3 separate regions of the Homo sapiens genome follow, and all the other regions are linked to region 1. The links are contacts of gene promoters, found by promoter capture Hi-C in blood cells and fetal thymus (Javierre and others, 2016). All regions are on one chromosome and are shown on one strand. Each heading gives the region's core, a stretch centred on a gene start or on the middle of the fragment in contact. The rest is flanking DNA. Distances are from core to core; before and after follow the strand shown. Region 1 holds the start of CD247 (CD247 molecule). Region 2 overlaps POU2F1 (POU class 2 homeobox 1). Region 3 holds the start of TRP-CGG1-1 (tRNA-Pro (anticodon CGG) 1-1).

Region 1 (4,969 bases), core at 1,656-4,155:
CTATGACCAGCCAGAGCTTTGCTGCTTTTTCACTATCGGGCCTACCTCTGCAATCATTGTTATGTTTCTGTGCTGGTATGGGTGTGCCCAGAAATCAGAAGAGGGATGAGTTGGATTGCAACAGATGGAGAAAATGCCCACTGCTGCTTTATAACATATTGAAAGCAAATGAAGAATCCCAGCCATGGGTTTCCATCTCCTGTTTTGAGAACAAGAAGACAGTCCGAGATGTAATAATAGTAATAGTAAATACAATGTTTACTTATTGGCTGTCTACTATGTATTGGACACATTACATTACTTCTCATTGTCACATCTCTGCAAAGAAGGTATTACAAGTCTTTCTTTAGAGGTGAGAAAACTGAGGCCCAGAGAGGTTAAGTAACTTGCCTAAGGTTGCACAGCTAGGAAGCGGCAGCACTGGGACACCACCTGAAATTAGCCTGGCTCTTTCTACCACGTCCAGCCACCTTCCTAAAAGCAGAGCCACTCACAAGCCTGGAAGCTTTGCATTCCCCAAGGCTGCATGTCAGAGCTCCATCTCCTCACTGATAAAAGACAAACACCACACTGACCGCTGGGTGCATTCTTGGCTACTGCAGAGTAGGGAGTTAGAGGCACTGAGGGCTCTGCAGGCACAAGTGTGCCCATGCCACTAGGCACGCCATCTTAGGATCTTCTGGCCTCAAGCCCTGGTGACTGTCTTGGTAGATTCTCTCTCAGGGAGGCCTCCTCATGTGGACAGACCAGGTCATCATTTGCTTTGATCCTAATAATCTGGGCATTTCCAAAGAAATGCAAATGCAACAGCTTAGTAAAAAGTAGACATTTTAAAAGGGATGTATGCAATGGGTCACTTAACTGAGCAAGAAAAGAGAGAAGACCTGACTGAAATTCTATGTGCGGCCTTTCCTCCGGGGAGACTGTGGAGGTGTCCCCTCAGGCAGCAAAAGCACCATCGCAGCCCTCGGTGTCAAGGCCTCTCTGAGTCGCGCTTTGCCTTACCGTACCTCGTTTCTGGGCTAGGATATTTTGAAACACTTTTGTCTATTAGCTTTATCTAAAATAGCTAAAATATCAGTCTCCATAGAGGCAAAGTAAGTGGCACTGAGAAGCAAAAAATCCAGCCAATGTGCAGTTTTCTCCTCCTGCCCCCTATTTGTGGAAATGAGGCACGGCCCCCATCTTGTCTGCTGGGTGGGGTTCTGTTTACCACGCTTGGCAGCCACCGCCACCCAACAATCTTTCATTTTTCTTTCTAACTTCACTTTGCCCCTACCTTGGTCTCTCCAAGCCGAACACAAATGGACCAGTGAGGAAACTGCAGGTAAAGACCCTGAAAGGTTATATGAGCTCCCTGGTGTGGTGTCTCAAGCCTGAAGCTCAGAGGCTGGAGCTATTGCCCCTGGCTGTCTCCCCTGAAGTCACTAAATTCCAGCGTTCTGGGTCCCCTTGTCCCCAGCACACAAGGATGGGCTGCTCTGAGCAAGCTCAGGCACCCTCACTCTGCCACACTGTGTGTGTGACTTAGACCCCACAAGGCTTTTCTGAGAAAACAGCTGTGACCTGACAGAAACCCCTGCAGCTGCACGGGCCTCAGAATCCCCCGAGGCGCTGGCCCGGGCTGTGCCTGGCTCCCTGGTGGGAGCAGAAGTGCCCATGGCCTCTCCTGCCCTCCCAACAGGGCCCCTAAACAAATTCCCACACCCAGGTGAGTTACCAGGAGCGATCAGGTGGGCCGAGGACATTTGCTTGCTTCACCTTCCCTGTTTCTTTAGATTGAAATTCAGCCTGCCCCACTTCTCAGGAAGATGCCACGAGGCTGATCCCCCTGAGCAGTTTGTCCTGTCCTCTTTTCACTGGTTTTCTTCCTCATTACCTGGGCTAGAAAACATGGTGGAAGCTAAAGGCTTGCAGCAAAGCTGGGCTCCCACGATCGGGAATGAGGTGAGGAGCAAGCACTCTTGTTGGCTGGGCGCTGCTCGTGGTGGTGACTTAACCAGGCACATCGTCTCATCTGCCCCGTGTTCTGTCAATGCCGGGCCCTCTGGCTGGGCTAGATGGCCGCCTAAGGGGCAGGCTGGGGTGAGTCACGGAGCCTGGGATGGTGCGTCACCCGGCAGTCCCAGGCGTGGGTGTGGGGACAGCCATGACAAGGCTGAGCCTAGACACGGACGCTTGGCCATGAGGTGGCGAAGGCGCTGTGGAGGCTGCCACCCGGTGCTTCCTGCCTGTGCCCCTCTCCTCCTTGGTTACCCCACTTACTCCCGGGCCCATTGGAGTGTTTCAGGCCATGACCTTGACTGACCAACAAAATCTTCTTTGTTGGCAAAGGAAGAAAGAAAGGGGCTGAGTGACGGAGCCAGCCAGAGGGTGAAAGAAGCTGAAGGGACTAGAACGTCGCAGCACGAAACATGGCCTGGCTGACATTTTCCGATCCTGTCCAGCTTCTGTGAAACACTCCCTCTCCGTTTCTCTACCCTGGGCCTGCCTCGGTTGCTCTCTTGCTTCCTTCTTCCTTCCTCTCTTATCACTCGAAAAATCTGTACCTGGAGGAGCTGTGTATTCTAGCAGCTGGCTCTGAACTGATGCCCAACTCGGCTGTGACGGAGCAGATGCCAGCACCGGGCCGGACCCCTCACTGCTCACTTGCCCATTGATTTGAGGAGGGCAGGATTTGAAGGAGACCCCAGCCCCTCACCACCCTCCACTACCCACACCCACTCCCCTACACATACACAAAGAGTTTCTAGAAGTTCCCTGCCGTCGACACGTCGGCCCTACCTGTAATCGGCAACTGTGCCTGCAGGATGGCCGCGGTGAAAAGCGCCTTCCACTTCATCTTGTCCTTTCCCTCAGAAAGAGGCTGGGAGGCAGAGGCTGAGGCAGCGGTGGCCGGGACGGTTAGGAGAAAAGGAGTCTCTGCTGGTTTTATTCTGCAGCTACCTCCCCAGGAAGTGGAGGACTGTGGGGCCTTTGAGAAAGCACCTGCCGACAGGGCCAAGAAATTCGCACTCCCCCTTTCGGTTCACAGGCAGGAAGCCCTGGAGGTTTGAGGGTTTGGGGTGTGTGTATGTATCTGTCTGTCTGAATTTTGCTTTTTCTCTCATTTGACCATTGTTTTAATGCTCCTTTTTTTAAAAAAAATAATTCTTATCTAATTCCTATCTTGATTGGTAAAGTCCATCTCTAGGCAAATACAAGTTCTCGATGGATGTAAGAACATTTGCTGTTTTCCTAGACTGTCAAATATTTTATGGTGGCTGGCAAAATGACAGAACCCTGGATTAGAGTCCAGGACAAATGTAGAGACAGATTCCTTGGGCTTTAGTGACATCTCTGCCTACCACCTACTTGCTGTGTGGCGTTGAGTCAGTCACTCAACATCTCTAGACTTCAGCTTCCTTATCTATAAAGCAAAGAGCTGGAGTAGATCTGAGGTTGCAGATCTGAACTTGGCCTGAATTTGGATCATTGTGTGAAATACTGTAGCTCACATAGTATTTTAAACACTTGTGTTAGTTGTCAACATTTAAACACCAGAGTAATTTACAATAATAAAACATTAAAACCTAGACATAAACTTCGTCTAAAAATTGTAATATATCTATATGAAACAAACTTTAAAACATTGCTGAAGAACGCCGAAAGGACTTGGGTAAATGGAAAGGCATACCCTTCTTTGATAGGAAGCTCTCTTTTAAGGAGACCACCATTCTCTCTTAATTAATCAATCTATTTCATTGAAAATACCAACAAAAAGTTTTAGAACAAGTTAAGCTGATTCCAAAATTGATATGAAAAAAATTAATGTACAAGAATAGCCAATAATCCAAAGTCACAGCAATCCAACATAAAATTGATAAATTGGACTTCATCACAATTAAAAGTTTTTGTGCATCAAAGGACACTATGAAGAAAGTGAGTCCTGCAAATCACCGCATACCTCTAAGTGATGGAAACAGCATTCCCATCATCAGACTTGGTACCTACTCAGAGCCTAAATTGACCCCTAAGGGGGCCGATGACTTACTCAAGGCCACACAGCAAGTAGGTGGTAGGTAGAGATGTCACTACAGCCCAAGTAGTCTGTCTCTACATTTAGTCTGAGTCTTCATCAGTGAAGGTTGTCATTGGTCTGGGGTGCTGACACACTGATGAAGCCTACATATACCAAAATGAAGACACAGCTGGGGAGGCCATCAGGGGGAAAATAGCAGAAGGAAAGGTGCAGAGGAAGGATATCTTCTACTGTGGAAAACTGTGGGCTACAAATCACAACCCAGAGCTGGTCTGCCCGAGCCTAGAGAGGATGCTCAAGGTCCTCCAGCTAGATTGTGTGGATCTTTACATCACTGAAATACCCATGGCCGCTAAGCCAGAAGACAAAATCTACCCTATAGGTGAGAATGGCAAATGGTTATATCACAAGTCAAATCTGTGTGCCACTTGGGAGACTTCGGAAGCTTGTAAAGATGCTGGCTTGGTGAAATCCCTCGGAGTATCCAGTTTTAACAGCAGGCCAGCTGGAGCTCATCCAGAACAACCCAGGACTCAAACCCAAGCCAGTCAGCAACGAGGTTGAGTGCCACCCATATTACACCCAACCAAAACTTTTGAAATTTCGCCAACAACATGACATTGTCATGATTGCATATAGCCCTTTGGGGACCACTAGGAATCCAACCTGGACAAATATGTCTTCTCTGCCTTCGTTAAAGGATGCACTTCTAAAAAGGTGCAATAAGATCACAGCTCAAGTTATTTTGCGTTTCAACATCCAGCAAGGGGTGGTTGTCATTCCTAAAAGCTTTAATCCTGAAAAGATCAAGGAAAACCTTCAGGCCTTTGACTTTTCTCTCACTGAATCAAGGACATTGAAGCCTGGAGTGAAAATGTCCGCTTCATAGAAATGCTCATGTGGTGTGATCATCCCAAATACCCATTTCTTGATGAATACTGACTTCAG
Region 2 (4,969 bases), core at 1,803-4,302, 240 kb before region 1:
TTTTTTTTGGCTTATTTAAAAACTGTATTAAAACTTTAAATGTACATCATTCTTCAGTATGACTACAGAAGGCCGCAATGGCCCTGATATCTCTACTTGTTCTTTCTGAAATTGAAGATGGGGCCAAATACTGTGTCTAATTCAACAGTTCAGATTTTTCATTCCCACTTTTTAAAGTGTTAGTGTTCGCTTGAGCACACAGGCGAGATTATGGGATCTTAACATTTGAATCACCTGGCAGAACTCTGAAGGTTTAGGGCAAGGAAAAAAAAGACATCCCAAAATTCTATGCTTACTATCACCCTGTCTTAGTAATGGTAAATTTTAAATTCTACCACCCCCTGCCCAAAAAGATGGGGTAAGAATAATGATTGGTTAAGTGATACATGGAAGACTGCTACATCCTAAAAAAGACTGATGGATGGTTCTGTGAAACACTGCTTATGTCTTAGCTATTTTCCATTCTGAGGTTTCTGTATAAGAATATCTTGTGCCCTGGAAATATTCAAGAAAAAGTACTTTAGATGAGTCTTATTTAATAACTTAAGATTTTATAACAGAGATGGTGGTTTGTGCCACATTATATCCAGCAGTTAGCGATCTAAGAACAAAATATTTAGCTTATACTAGAAGACAACAGTAGTCCCCCTTTATCTGCTGTTTCTTTTTCTGTGGTTTCAGCTTCCCACAGTCAACTGCTGTCCAAAAATATTAAACGGAAAATCCAAGACATAATTTATAAGTTTTAAGTTGCATGCTGTTCTGAGTAGTGAGATGAAATCTCACGGCATCCCACTCTGTTCTGCCGAGGACGTGAATCTTTCCTTTGTTCAGTATATCCCATGCTGTATACACTACCTGCCTGTCAGTCATTCAGTAGCGGCCTATGTTATCAGATTGGCTGATCATTGTATTGCAGTGCTATGTTCAGGTAACACTTATTTTACTTATAGTGGTCCCAAGGTGCAAGAGTAGTGATGCTGACATATTATTATAACTTCTATTTTATTATTCTTATTGTTAATCTTACTATGCCTAATTTATAAATTAAACTTAATCATAGGTATATATATATAGGAAAAACATAGTGTTATATAGGGTTCAATACTAGCCCCAGTTTCAGTTGGGGGTCTTGGAATGTGCCCCCCACAGATAAGAGGGGACTATATTCTTATAGAAGAAGAGTTTGATTTTTTAGGACGTTATTTCCTGTTCAAACCATTGACCCACTCTTTGAGATAAGTTATTCTGAAGCTTTCATATAAGTAAAAGCAATTAAATTTTGCCACCAGCACCATCCTCAACCATTCTGAATTATAAAGTGTTAAAATTAAGAACAGGAAGAATGGAAGTATTCAATAAAAAATGAAGTATTTTCAGTTCCATATTGTCATCAAATAAGGGTGGGAAAGGCAAAGGAGAAAATCAATAAGTATGGAGAAGAAAGAAATGAGTAGATAGAACAAAAAAGATGAGAAAGGAAGCCATATTGAAGTCAGGAGAGAGTGCAGAGCAAGAAAGGATGGGCAGAAAAAAAGAAAACAAGAAAGGAGTTTAATGAGTGAGTAGAATGTGCTCTTGTTGCATTCTACTGCCAGTCTAAGCCATGGAATAGTTCACTATTCTGGGAAGTATTCTTAAGATCATCAGTGACCTTCAGGTCATGAAATCTAATAAGCATTCTTTCAGACCTGTTCTTATTTGACCTCTCAGTGGTGTTTGACACTCTCAACCACCAACTCTTTGTGAAACCTTTTTTTCCCTGAAAGCTGTGAGGTCGTGCTTTCTCGGTTCTCTTCTCATGTCTCTGGTAACTCCTGCTTTGTCTACTTTGGGTTTTTTGTTTTGTTTTGTTTTTTGTTTTTTAAGAGTTGGGATCTTGCTCTGCTGCCTAGGCTGGAGTGCAGTGGCGCAATCATAGCTCACTGCAACCTCACACTCCTGGGCTTAAGTGATCTACCTGCCTTGGCCTCCTAAGTAACTGTGTTCATTTGACACAGTTTAGGAACTAAAGATCAGGTAAAACCAGCCAGTTCCTGAGCTGGAATTGAATCTGTTCAGAATGTCTGGGAACTAACTCCATTTTTACGTGTCAACCATACCTGGCTAATTAAAAAAAAAAAAAAAAAATTGCCTAGGCCAGTCTTGAACTCCTGACCTCAAACGATCCTACCTCAGCCTTCCAAAGCCTCGGATTACAGGCATGAGCCACCTCACCCCAGCCACCTTTGTTGTCCAGAGATGTCAGATTTTGTGAAAGCTCAGTCCTAGGCTTCCATTTCTTTTCATTCTACGACCCAGCAATTATATCTATCCCAATGGCCTCAGTTACTACTCGCTGATGCCGCATGCCATCCTCTGGTGTCCCACATGTCAGTGAATAGCATCACCTTTTTTATTCCAGTTTTCCAAGTTAAAGACTTAGGAGTAATTCCTAATACCCCCTCTCCCTCACTTCCCAAATTCTTACTGTACTAAGGCCTGTCTATTTGACATCCTTTAATAATTTTCAAATCCATATTCTCTGCTGTCTTAGTCTGAGTAGGATTATCTCCCCCTTGCAGCACAATAGTAGCCCTCCATATCCTTGTTAAATTTGTTCTGTACACTGAAGCTAGGGTACTGTATCCTATGAAAACACAAATCCAGTCATGTCATTCTCCTCCATAGCATTATTTCCTGCTACTCTTAGGATAAAGACTAACATTCCCCAGGCCTACTTCTCCACCTCCCCTCTTATTTTTCAAACCCTCTGCACTTGAGCCACTGAGACTTTTGTTCAGATTCTCACAGGTACCATGCTCTGACCTTTTACTTCTCTGCTTAGTCAATTTCCATTTCATTCTTCACGTCTCAACACAAAGACTGTTTCTATAGAAAAAGTGATTATTGATATATGGTCTTGTAAGATTCTGTTCTTTTGCTTATAGCATTTATCATAATTTGTTATTATGTATCTCTGAGACTGAAAACTCCCAAGAGGGATGGGACCTTGTCTGCTTTACTCACTGCTGTATCTCCAGCACCTGGCACATGGTAGGGATTTCATAGATAATGGTTAAATGACTTGAGTTTGTCCTTTCTCTAGATCTAGGGTATTTGTCATTTGTCCATAAATTTTGCTTCAGGAAATTTTAGGGCTCAGCATAATCTGATTAGGCTTCAACGATGAAGATAATGTTACATTTATCATTCGACACAGTTTAGGAACTAAAGGTCAGGTAAAATCAGCTAATTCCTGAGCTGTGGAATTGAATCTGTTCAGATTGTCTGGGAACTTTATTTTTACCTGTCCTGACAAGTCTTCTAAAAAAAGATACGTTGACTTAGCTCACTTTTCAGCAAGCGTTTCAGTGCTTACAATACGCCAGACATTTTGCAAACTTTAATTGGCTATCCCCTTCATTTGTTTTTCTATTTTAATAGAATTTAATAAAATTCTATTTTAATAGAATTTATTTTAAATTTGGTTTTCAAGACCTATTTCACATGGGTACATATTTGTGTCTTTGAGTATGATTCTTTAAGTAAAACACTTTGCAAATAAAATGATCATCTGAAAGATATTTTTTCATTTGATTGTAATTAGTTAGGTAAATTAAGGGGAATACATAATTACACAGCTTAAAGATATTCAAATGCTATTGGAACAGGATTGGTGTCTCCATGTTCTTCCATTTCCTTCTATTCCCCCCTGATTATAATGGTACACAGTGCTTACAGCATACGCCTGATAATGTTAAATGAACACACATTATGTGTAGAATATGCAGAATCATGGGTAGTGGTATGTAACAAATGTTGTTAACTGATGAGATATAGCAAACGTGAATAAAAAAGGTTTAATTAACATGGATAAAGAAATTCAGTCTTTTGTTTTATAATGTAATGCAACTGACCTCTGCCCTGTGATGCAGACAAGAGCTGTTACAAGTTATCAAAAGTAAGTTTATGAAAAAGATCATTTTTCTTATTGATGTTGTGTCCCCCCATGACAGAACATGTAACAGAGTTAAGAGAATAATGTGTGACCTACCCTCGCAATCCAGATAAATATAGAAATTCTTGATAATTTAGTTATATGAGCTTGAGTAATATTTTAAAGGTGAGAAGAGTTATGACTTAGAACAGAGGAAAAATGTGATTCTTGGTAGAGGGAACTGCAGCTTAAATGTTCCAGAGGGGGCCGTGCATGGTGGCTCACACCTGTAATCCCAACTACTTGGGAGGCTGAGGTAGGAGAATTGCTTGAACCCTGGAGGCGGAGATTGCGGTGAGCTGAGATTGCACCACTGCACTCCAGCCTGGGCCTCAGAGCGAGACTCCATCTCAAAAAAAACCATATGTTCCAGAGGGAATAAATATTGATGGGAGTTGGGTGGGGACAGATGATGGATGGAACTTAAGTTCTGGAAGGGTTAGCAAGCAGGTTTACTTGTCTAGATTGAGAAAAAAGTGATTCATGGAAACTATGTTTGGAAACATAGGATAAGCACTCTGACTTGACAAAATGATTTGTATTTAAAACCATATTGTTGGCAGGGCATAGTGGCTCACTCCTGTAATCTCAGCACTTTGGGAGGTCGAGGTGGGCAGATCACCTGAGGTCGGGAGTTTGAGACCAGCCTGACCAACATGGTGAAACCCCGTTTTTACTGAAAATACAAAAATTAGCCAGGCGCCTGTAATCTCAGCTAGTCTGGAGGTTGAGGCAGGAGAATCGCTCGAACCCAGCAGGTGGAGGTTGCAGTGAGCTGAGATTGTGCACTCCAGCCTGGGCGACAGAGTGATACTCTGTCTCGGGGAAAAAAAAAAAAAACTTATTGTAAATGTGTGATATCAGAAATAATAAAGCTTTCCTCTCCAGATCTTATGAAAATAAAAGTGGACATGATATGTAGCAAATATGCTTGGTGTTTGAGCTTGATTTTTTTTTTTAAAGAGAGATTTTATTGCCATTACTGTTATG
Region 3 (4,969 bases), core at 897-3,396, 200 kb after region 1:
AGAAATAAGGGACGTCTGCAACTTGGCCACAGACTGCAAGGAGCCGGAGTGCAGAGTGGCGGGCTGGGGTCGTGAAGTGGGGGGAAGCGGTGAGAGCAGTCCGGAAAGCAGGCAAGACGAGCTAGACCCCAGGCCGGGAAACCACACCGGCGGGAGACCCCGCACTCGGACTCCCGCTCCTCTGAGCAGAAGAGCAGTAGGGCAGGCCCACATTTTCTGCTGGACGGGAGGGAGAAGACCCGGCCCACTGCCACTGCCCTCTCTTCTCCAAGCTACCGAGGTACCAATCTTCTCCCCAACTCTCCAGTCCCTTTCACACGCCCCAGCCCCCAGTTGTCCCACCCTCCAGGACCTCGGGAGTTCCTAGACCAGCGCCACCGCCAGCTCCTAGCCCAGTGGATTTATGTGAGCGACTTAACATCTCTGAGCCTCAGTTTCCTCATCTGCAAATGGAGATACAATGGCACCTAGGGGATTATTACGAATATCAGGTGAGTTCAATACAAGCAAAGGGCTTAAAAGAGTGCACTATCCCCAAATGAAGGTTCGGGGAGTTAACTTAATATTCACTCCTATGGGATTTCGTCTCCCACCACCCCTTTCTTAGCCAGGATTCGGGTATTCCCTTCCCTCGCTCGGACTCCCCGTCTTCATTCACCGACCCACTCGCGGAGCGAGCAGGCCCAGCTCTGCGTGCACTGACGGGCTGGGCGCGGGCGGGGCGCCGCCGGGACTTGGCACCGGGCTGCGTCCTGAGGCGCCCTGCCCCGCCCCGCACTTTCCTCAGCCCGGGCTCCCGGGCGCCCGCCAACACTGCGAGTGGAACAGCCGGGGCGAGCCCGTAAGCCGGAAGGCGGCTTCCGGGAGCGCGTGCGAACGTGGAGGCCACGCCGGCGATGGGGGGTTGGAACGGCCGGACCAGGCAAAAGCCGGTCCCTCCCTGCTCCTCCACGCTGTGGGGCAGTAAGCGCTCCGGACCCGAGGCTTAGGGAATCAGAGGACACGCAGTATAAGGGTCGCAGGTCGTGGTTGCTCGGAACACGAGGTGAGAGGCGGAACAAGGCTGAAGGGAAGCTCTGGGAGTGCCCTTGCCGAGAGCGGCTCGTTGGTCTAGGGGTATGATTCTCGCTTCGGGTGCGAGAGGTCCCGGGTTCAAATCCCGGACGAGCCCAGGCTTTTACCCACCCCACACCCGAAATTTAAAAACAGATTTTTTCCCCCTAATTCCCCACATATTCCATTCAGAAACTTAAATGAAAACATACTGGTCCCATGAGCTCGAATGTTGATCCCCTTTGTTTTTTGAAGCGAGGGACCATGTGAGCTCAATTAATACAACATATGGTTACTGTACGCCCAAAGGCAACGCATTCAAATTGCTTTGTACCATGTAAAACACACACTCTTGAAAAACAGACGCCTAGTGCGGAATCCTGTGCACGCCTTTAACTCCTCCAAACGAGCAGGGGGCGTCATGGATTAGCATGTCCCGGGGTTCGGGAATCAGCATTTCCGAGGAAAGGGGCGCTCAGGAGATATCCCCACCCCCGATGAGGGGCACTGTCGTGGATGAGTTTAAACCACGCCATAGGCAGCCAAGAACTGAGCTCCCGATGGCCCTGTACACGCGCTGCACCCAGGAATAGACAGCTAGGGACAATGTTTTCATAGTACAATACTACATTACTAGCAAACTTTTTACATTTTCAAAATGAGGCCTTTTAATGGTATTTCAATGTAGAGTGTGCTCTAAGTTTCCAAAAATCTCAATTTTGTGTTTTACTCTGACCAACCTGTATTTATTACGTTTAGTAATCTATCCCCAAAAAAACTCACCTTTAAGTGATTCTTACTCCAAAACAGGGCTCGTCCGGGATTTGAACCCGGGACCTCTCGCACCCTAAGCGAGAATCATACCCCTAGACCAACGAGCCGACACAAACTCCACCTTACTGTCATCAGAAAGGAACACATAGCTATTTAGTCCTGCGCCCTCAAGTGGTTGCTCGCATGTTAGGATTCGATCTTTGGGTTGTGTTTGCTTTCTATAGATACCGCGTTTTCAATTTTCTTTCTTTTCTGTTTTGCTCTTTGAAAATCAGTAACACAGAAGACAGCAAAATTGTCACTATCAGTATAATATCGACCTCTTATTTCGAAAATTGTAATTGTATTTCTATTCATGGCTAATAAATGGCTATTAGTGTGGGACAATGTCACTGTGGCAGATTCCAGACTCTCTCCGTTACTGAGTGAGTTCTGGATGTTTCATTCGTTCTTTTTCGCACTTTTCTATAATGTTAAAATCTCGGTTTCTTGCCGATATTTTTTATTGTAATATTCAAAGCCCTACCTATCTAGCCTTGTGAATTCCCATCTCTGTTTTTACTCGAAGTGTTCTCTTCAGCTGGAAAACCTGTTTGCTTTTGGACAAATCCCAAACTCTAACCTTCCCAGAAAAAGATCCTTTAACATATCAAAACCAATAGTATGTGGTAAATAACTGGGTTTCAGTCTTATCTCCTCCAACTGTAACTTCTTAGAGCGCAAGACACCTACACCAACACGAAATTCTACTGTAGAATTGGCAACCAATTGTGTGATTGCTGTTCGATTGTCCCAATATCTTTAATTAGATATAGTAAGCATGGCTTCTTAACTATATTTTAAATTCTTTTTCCTTTCTTTCTTTTTTTTTTTTTTTTTTTGAGACGTTGTCTCGCTTCGCTCTTTCGCCAGGCTGGAGAGAAGTGGTGTGATCTCGGCTCACTGCAACCTCCGCCCCCTCCGCCCTCCAGGTTCAAGCGATTCTCCGCCTCCCGAGTAGCTGGGATTACAGGCACCTGCCACCATGCCCAGCTAATTTTTGTATTTTTAGTAGAGGCGGGTTTCACCATGTTGGCCAGGCTGGTCTCCAACTCCTGACCTCAGTTGATCCACCCTCCTCGGCCTCCCAAAGTACAAGCGTGAGCCACTGCGCCCGGCCTAATTTCTTTTTTTTTTTTTTTTTTTTTTTTTTTTTTTTTTGAGACAGAGTCTAGCTCTGTCACCCAGGCTGGAGTGCAGTGGCGCGATCTCGGCTCACTGCAAGCTCCGCCTCCTGGGTTCATGCCATTCTCCTGCCTCAGCCACCCCAGTAGCTGGGACTACAGGCGCCCGCCACCACGCCTGGCTAATTTTTTTTGTATTTTAATAGAGTCGGGGTTTCACCGTGTTAGCTAAGATGGTCTCGATCTCCTGACCTCGTGATCCACCTGCCTCGGCCTGCCAAAGTGCTGGGATTACCACCGTGCCTGGCCCTAAATTCTTAAATACTTAGCATTGAGGCTTATCATAAGGAAGCTGGTGCTCAATGAATGATTCTGAATGATTACAATTTGTCTCAAATTCCTTAACAATACGAATTTTAGGTGTTTTTTGTTTGATACAGGGTCTCACTCTGTCGCCCGGGCTGGAGTGCAGTGGCATGATCATGGCTCACTGCATTTTAGTACTTTTGTTGCCGGAAAAAGGGGTCTTCACCGAACCTGGAGAGAGGGTTCTTGGATCTCGTGCAGGAAAGAATTCAGGGTGAAAGAAGCAAGTTTATTGGAAACTACTCTGTTACAGAGCAGGATGTTCTCAGAAAGTAGGAGGAGAAACACCCCGTTCTTAAGTTTTTCTTATATAGTGATCTTACCTATGTAAAAGCTAGGCTAAGCTGTGCCTACATACGGGTGAGCAGACAACATGACAAATTTTGTTACTCTGTTGATTTAAAGAAGACAATTATTGACATTTTAGTGTGTGAATACGTAAAAGCATAACTGTGATTATCTTAAAGGCATATATTGTTGTAGATATTAGGACATTTGGACTTCTTGCTGTTGTAGGAGTCAGTCCTAGTTATCTTCAGGCTGTTTCCTTAATTATAAACATCCCATGACTATGGGTCGTGGCAGGCAAGGAATGTGCCTTGTTAGTCCTAAAATGGAGCTGAACTTAAAATGGCATTATTCTAGCTTTCCTAGGCTGCTGCTTCCCTAACACGTTGACAAACACATTGACAAACAGTAATTGTGAATTGTCATTCTAGCAAATAACCAACCAGATAGGAAACAAGTAGACAGAGTGACTATCTTAAATAGACCTATTCATTAATTTTATTTCATATGTCATACATTCATCGGTTTATTCATTCATTCATTCATTGCTCATTCTTTTTTATTTTTTTCCGAGACGGAAGTCTTGCTCTGTCACCCAGGCTGGAGTGCAGTGGCGCAATCTCAGCTCACTGCAACCTCCGCCTCCCGGGTTCAAGCAATTTTCCCGCCTCAGCCTCCCAAGTAGCTGGATTACAAACGGTGGGCACCAAATGTATTTTTAGTAGAGATGGGGGTTTCGCCATGTTAGCCAGGCTGTTCTCGAACTCCCGACCTTGTGATCCGCCGGCCTTGGCCTCCCAAAGTGCTGGGATTACAGGCGTGAGCCACGGCGCCCAGCCTACTCATTCTTCAACAAACATTTAACAACAAGTACTATGTGACCGACTCCGAACTGTCCACTTTCTTCCTATGGTTTGACAACAGAAAATTATAGAAAATCTAGCGCTGTCTTTACCCTTGTTTTATTTAAAACTGCCCTAACTTGAGTCTTCAGTTCTTCTTAGGGCTCCAGGAAAGGAGGGAGGATAAGAATACCTTGTACAATGTTAATAAGTTCTAGATTGCCAGATAGTGTATTCATCAAAATCTAACTGGAAAAAAATATGCCCTGGACACCTAAGAAGTTTATACTGCTTTTCTCCTTAAAATGAGGAAGCTGTAGAATATAACTGGTTAGAGAAAATAATATAACCACTTCAGATATCTGAAAGCCTCAGTCTCAAGAAGTCTCCCTGCTCTCTCTCTTTTCCCTTTTGAATTTACTATAGCTATTATCATTTTAGATTTTTCCCCCCAACTTCTTCTATCTAATCATTAAAAAGGAA

The links. The method cuts DNA at HindIII sites, captures the fragments that hold promoters and counts their contacts. A CHiCAGO score of 5 or more calls a contact.
Region 2: a fragment that was not itself captured here is called in contact with the fragment with the promoter of CD247 in region 1 in 8 of 17 cell types (activated CD4 T cells, total CD4 T cells, neutrophils and 5 more); the score reaches 7.2 in activated CD4 T cells.
Region 3: a contact is called between a fragment that was not itself captured here and the fragment with the promoter of CD247 in region 1, in 1 of 17 cell types (fetal thymus). The highest score is 5.1, in fetal thymus.

The regions. Positions count from the first base shown.
Region 1 is chr1:167,515,624-167,520,592 of GRCh38, forward strand. CD247 (CD247 molecule) reads right to left here and starts at 2,906. Exons shown (of 8, transcript NM_198053.3): 1 at 2,785-2,906. The coding sequence starts at 2,842. It also overlaps the pseudogene AKR1D1P1. RefSeq lists enhancers at 1,303-2,266, 1,538-2,737. The HindIII fragment of the contact is 3,961 bases long and covers 504-4,464 here.
Region 2 is chr1:167,275,387-167,280,355 of GRCh38, forward strand. All of the region lies in intron 1 of POU2F1 (POU class 2 homeobox 1), which reads left to right. LOC124900412 (a long non-coding RNA gene) reads left to right here. Exons shown (of 2, transcript XR_007066718.1): 2 at 1-4,969. Among named protein-coding and RNA genes, the nearest start is that of POU2F1, 57 kb to the left of the region's middle. The HindIII fragment of the contact is 3,600 bases long and covers 1,253-4,852 here.
Region 3 is chr1:167,713,626-167,718,594 of GRCh38, forward strand. TRP-CGG1-1 (tRNA-Pro (anticodon CGG) 1-1) reads left to right here and starts at 1,100; the gene lies at 1,100-1,171. It overlaps TRP-AGG2-1 (tRNA-Pro (anticodon AGG) 2-1), which reads right to left and starts at 1,934; the gene lies at 1,863-1,934. RefSeq lists enhancers at 1-456, 1-110 and silencers at 581-820, 1,121-1,220. The HindIII fragment of the contact is 8,006 bases long and covers 1-4,969 here.